Linked DNA regions of Homo sapiens: region 2 is linked to region 1. The links are contacts of gene promoters, found by promoter capture Hi-C in blood cells and fetal thymus (Javierre and others, 2016). All regions are on one chromosome and are shown on one strand. Each heading gives the region's core, a stretch centred on a gene start or on the middle of the fragment in contact. The rest is flanking DNA. Distances are from core to core; before and after follow the strand shown.

Region 1 (2,567 bases), core at 26-2,525:
TGAGCTGTACTGCACTACAGCTTGGGTGACTGAATGAGACCCTGTCTCAAACAATAACAACAGTAATAATAAAAGAGCCATTTCCTCTGACTGGGTCCATCACCCCACTTCTGACCCCAGACTCCTACTAGTCTCACATAAGCCATCCTTTTACTTTGAGACCTGTGGCCAGTTACCAAACTGCCCTGGGCCTCAGTCTCCTCATCTGTAAAATGGAATAAATGCTACCGACATCATAGAATCGAGGTGCTTAGAACAGTGCCTGGCACATAGAAAATGCTAGGCAAGGGTTAGCTATTGTTACTGTTGCTGTTGAACTAACCTGACCTTTCCCCAACCTCTAAATCTGAGTTAAGTTCCCACTTCTAGGCTTCATCATCCCCCTGTACCTGCAGCCATCACACGGGATTCTAACTGTGTGGTTACCCTTCAGTCTAACATCAAGCTCCATGGGGGATCCAAGGACGGAGTTTAATCTCCTGCACCCAGCAGGAAGCCTGGGACAGTAGGCGTGACTTTTGTATGATGGAAGCCCAGGCAGTAGGGCAGAAGGATGGGCCAATCCTGAGGTTTTAGATCCGAGATTCTGGGAAAAGTAGGGGCAAGATCCCTGGCTTCTATCTGAGGGAGGCTGGGCCTGGACCAGGTTTGGGGACAGTGTGCCCCAGGGTGTGTGTGACACATACCTCCTTGTTGTCCATGGGGATCTTGAGTTTCACCACCTCATACTTCTCCTCACCCTCATCCTCCTCACCCTTCACCAGCAGCACCATCTCCTCCTGCATCTCTTCCTCCTCCTCTTCCTCTGCCTGCTGTTCGCCAGGCATCTTGGTGTCCTGAGGCGGGGAGCTGGATCAGAAGCTCAGGACCCGCCCCCCCCCACCCCCCCCCCCGCCCACCGTGGCCCTGGCCCAGCAAGGCAGTGCAGCCGTGGCTTCTCCCGCCCTGCCCTGGTCTCCGAATCTGGTCCTCTCCCGTCCACCCCAGCCCGGCCCCACGCTCTGGCACAGCCCCGGGACCAGCTCCGAGGGCTCGCGTTCACCCCACTCATCCCAGCATTCAAGGCCTTGAACAGTTCGAATCTCCAGCCCCCGCAAGTCGCCACCATCCTTGCGCTGAGTCACTCCCCAGGGCCCGGGTCGGCGACCTGGAGCTCTGGGGCACGGGCTGGAGGCGGGATCGGGGCGGAAACCCCGGGGAGGGGGTGCGCACTCACCAGCCGAAGGTTCGGCACTCGCGGTGCCCCAGGCCTGGGCGCCGGGCGGCTGGGCACTCAGCGAGGCCGCGGCTCCGGGGGCGGGGAGGGGGCGGGACCGCAGGGACGGCCGGTCATTGGTCCGAACATATAGCCCCACCCCCTGGGGCGGAGCCCGAAGGACCCAGGCGTCCGGCCCAAACGGCTCGGAGAGGGCGGCGAGCTCAGACTTGGCGTCCTCCGCAGTCCCCCGACTCCCAAGCACCTGGAGCCGCCCCAGCCCGGCGTTCAAGGTCCTTGCCGCCGAGTTCCAACCTAACCTCGCGGCCCGTCTCCTGGGGCCGGCTTGGAGGTCTCCGCTGCGCCCAGTGCCTCTGCTCCGCCCGAAATAGGCCACGTGCGCTCCCGCCCCGGCCTGGGCCTCTCCCTGGCGCCCCGCCTGGAGGGCGGACCCTGTTGCCTCCTCACTTCTTCCATTCCCTCTTTATCTCCTCTGCCGTCTTTTCTCCATCTTTCTCGGCTTCGCCTATTCCGCTGGCCTCTGGGATATCCTTGAATACATCCTAACCAATTCAACATCCACCCAAGCTACCGCTGTCGCGTCATGCGTGGGGTGCTTACCATGCGCCAGCGCTGTTCAGCGTCTTACATACCTGGTCTCATTTGATCCGCATAACGATGGGTCCTGATCCATTTTACAGATGAGCTCACTGAAGTTCAGGGAGGTAAACTGATTTGCCTAAGTTACACGATAAGGATGTCATAGCATCCCTGACAATCAGTAGCCTAGGTGAACAACAGCCCAAAGCTAAATCCAGTCCACAGGGGTACCTTGTTTGGCCCTTAGGGTATTTTTACTTTTAAAAAATCTTTTCGGACGGGCACGGCGGCTCACGCCTGTAATCCCAGCACTTTAGGAGGCCGAGGCGGGCGGATCACGAGGTCAGGAGATAGAGACCATCCTGGCTAACACGGTGAAACCCCGACTCTACTAAACAAAATACAAAAAATTAGCTGGGCGTGGTGGCGGGCACCTGTAGTGCCAGCTACTCGGGAGGCTGAGACAGGAGAATGGCGTGAACCCGGGAGGCGAGCTTGCAGTTAGCCGAGATCGCGCCACTGCGCTCCAGCCTGGGCGACAGAGCGAGACTCCGTCTCAAAAAAAAAAAAAAAAAAAAAAAAAAAAAATCGTTTCAAAGCCGGGCGCGGTGGCTCATGCCTGTAATCCCAGCACTTTGGGAGGCGGAGGCCGGTGGATCACTTGAGGTCAGGATTTCGAGACCAGCCTAACCAACATGGTGAAACCCCGTCTCTACTAAAAATACAAAAATTAGCCAAGCTTGGTGGTGCATGCCTGTAATCCCAGCTACTC
Region 2 (2,567 bases), core at 18-2,517, 280 kb after region 1:
TGGTGGCGCGCACTCGTAGTCCCAGCTCTTTGGGAGGCTGAGGTGGGAGGATCACTTGACCCCAGGGAGGTTGAGGCTGCAGTGAGCAATTATTGCACCACTACACTCCAGCCTGGACGACAGAGAGAGACCCTGTCTCTATAATAAAATAAAAACAGTCTAGGACTCTGAGAGGCATGGAATTAGAAAGAGTCTCTGTGTCAGAAGACACCATTTTGAGTCTCAGCTGTCACTACTAGTGACCTTACCCAAGTTAGTAAACCTAACTCTCAGATTCTCCATCTGTAAAATTTGATCCATTTATTAGAACATTATTTTTAACCTAGGGTGATCCCGGGCCCAGGTTCTGGTGGGCTGCCGCATACATTGGCTGGGTGGCTCTGGTAGGTCACGCCCTGGCCGCTTCGCCATCGAGGGGAGGGTGAGGACAGTCTCCGAGGCGGCGCTGCCGAACCTCCCGGTGACCTGGAGGCCGCGGAGCCCGCAGGGACCCATGGCCCCCGAACCTGGGGCAAGAAGGGCGGGCGCGCGCGGGGCGGGTCACGTGACAGCTCCAGGCCCACGCGGGGCCGGGGCAAGGGCGGGGCCTGGCGCGCGCGGCCCTGCGGGTGACAGGCAGGCGGGAAGGGGCGGGGCCTCGGGCGGGGCCGCCGTGGGGAGGAGGGCGGTGGGAGGGGAGGAGTGGAGATGGCGGCGGCGGCGGCTCAGGGGGGCGGGGGCGGGGAGCCCCGTAGAACCGAGGGGGTCGGCCCGGGGGTCCCGGGGGAGGTGGAGATGGTGAAGGGGCAGCCGTTCGACGTGGGCCCGCGCTACACGCAGTTGCAGTACATCGGCGAGGGCGCGTACGGCATGGTCAGGTGAGGGGGCGTTCCGGGGGAGGGGGTGCCCTCAGGGGAGGGGGCTTCGCGGGAGAGGAGGAGGAGGCGCCGAGCGCTTTCCGGGACGTGGAGACGCGGAGCGTCCCGAGGAGGCAGGAGACTCGGGATGATCGGGAGCGTCCCAGGGAGGGGGCCCCTGAGTGCTTTCTGGGGGAGGGGGCGCTGCCTACGTCCTCAGGGGAGCAGGCTTGGAGGCTTTGAGTCCACCCTTCTGTAATGATGGGAGGGGCATCCGAGTGCATGTGGGGGCCCGCGGGGACCCTAGTGACACGGGGCGAGGCCCAGAGGATGAGTACTCTCGGGGAGGCGACATCCTTAGTGAAGAGGCAGTGGAGGGCCCGTTTTGGGGGAAAGGGTGTCTTGGATTCCCCCTGTGAGGCAGTGCCAGGGAGCCTGGGGGAGAAGAGCCGAGATCAGGGTGGGGCAGGGCTTTGGCCCCACCACCCCAGGGGCCCAGAGAGAGATGAGGCGGCCAGGAGTGCCACCTGCATGTTTTGGGAGGGGTCTGTGAGTGCCCCCGGCCCCACCGTGTGCTCTGGGCCTCTATCCCTCTGGGACAGCCCCGCTGCCCGGATCCCTCACCCTGGGACCCTCCCCTGCCCTGTCCATTCTCTCCTGCCCCTCCCCTGGCTGCCACCTTCCCAGTATTTGCCCCATGGTGTGTCCCCAGCATCTGCACCCCCGGACCTGTCTTGGGTTAAGGAGCCTTTCCTGGGAATGGGGGCGAAGGGTTCAGGGCCAGTAGAATGGAAGGGGATTGAGGAGAGGGGAAGTCAGTGAGCGGTCAGTCTCTTCCTCTGTTTGTAAAGTCACCGAAGGGCCGCCTGGCTGGTCCCCAGCTTTCTCTCTGGAGATCCCAGGCCTCCACAGCAGGAAGGAACCAGCATTGTTTATGATTTGACCAGAGCCAGCTCCTGCTCTCTCCCCTCCCTGCCAAGGCCTGGGTGGGGCCACCAGGCCCGGACTCCCCCTTTGTAAGGCCACAGCAGCAGCCTCTCTCCGGTCCCCTCAGCTCGGCCTATGACCACGTGCGCAAGACTCGCGTGGCCATCAAGAAGATCAGCCCCTTCGAACATCAGACCTACTGCCAGCGCACGCTCCGGGAGATCCAGATCCTGCTGCGCTTCCGCCATGAGAATGTCATCGGCATCCGAGACATTCTGCGGGCGTCCACCCTGGAAGCCATGAGAGATGTGTATCCTTCACCTTGGCCAGTCGGCTGGTCAGGCACGGCCTCGCAGCTGGGCTGGGGACCCGTTGCTTGGTTTCTGTTTCCATCTTACCCACCACCCTCCAAAACAAACCCAGTAAAATAAACTTTCCTGCAGAGGGGAAGCCACAGTGTAACAGGACTTGGAGACCTCTGATGAACCCAGGCCTGCAGCGGCCCAGGCAGTATGGCCTCGAGCAAGTGGGTTCTCTGCTCTGTGCCCCAGGGGGAAGGGCTAGGCAGGATGGTCTCTATGGGAGTGGTGTCTTCTGACGTCGGCAGTTCTGAGACATGACCTGGCCTCTGCCCACAGTCACTTCTTGCTAAGGAATGGATGATTCTTTCCTCTCTTTCCTCCTTGCCCAGACCGGAAGGGAGACAGGGAGAAAGAAAACTGTCAGCTGGGCGTGGTGGCTCACGCCTGTAATCCCAGCACTTTGGGAGGCTGAGGTGGGAGATTACCTGAGGTCAGTAGTTGG

Evidence for each region. Contacts are between HindIII fragments. The CHiCAGO score rates a contact against its expected background, and 5 or more counts as called.
Region 2: a fragment that was not itself captured here is called in contact with the fragment with the promoter of ZNF771 in region 1 in 3 of 17 cell types (naive CD8 T cells, fetal thymus and total B cells); the score reaches 7.9 in naive CD8 T cells.

What each region holds. Positions count from the first base shown.
Region 1 is chr16:30,406,314-30,408,880 of GRCh38, reverse strand. ZNF771 (zinc finger protein 771) reads right to left here and starts at 1,275. Exons shown (of 3, transcript NM_001142305.2): 1 at 1,217-1,275; 2 at 687-836. The coding sequence starts at 827. RefSeq lists silencers at 1,140-1,349, 1,372-1,551. The HindIII fragment of the contact is 8,204 bases long and covers 1-2,536 here.
Region 2 is chr16:30,121,330-30,123,896 of GRCh38, reverse strand. It overlaps MAPK3 (mitogen-activated protein kinase 3), which reads left to right and starts at 677. Exons shown (of 9, transcript NM_002746.3): 1 at 677-857; 2 at 1,891-2,073. The coding sequence starts at 688. RefSeq lists a silencer at 316-685. The HindIII fragment of the contact is 5,672 bases long and covers 1-2,567 here.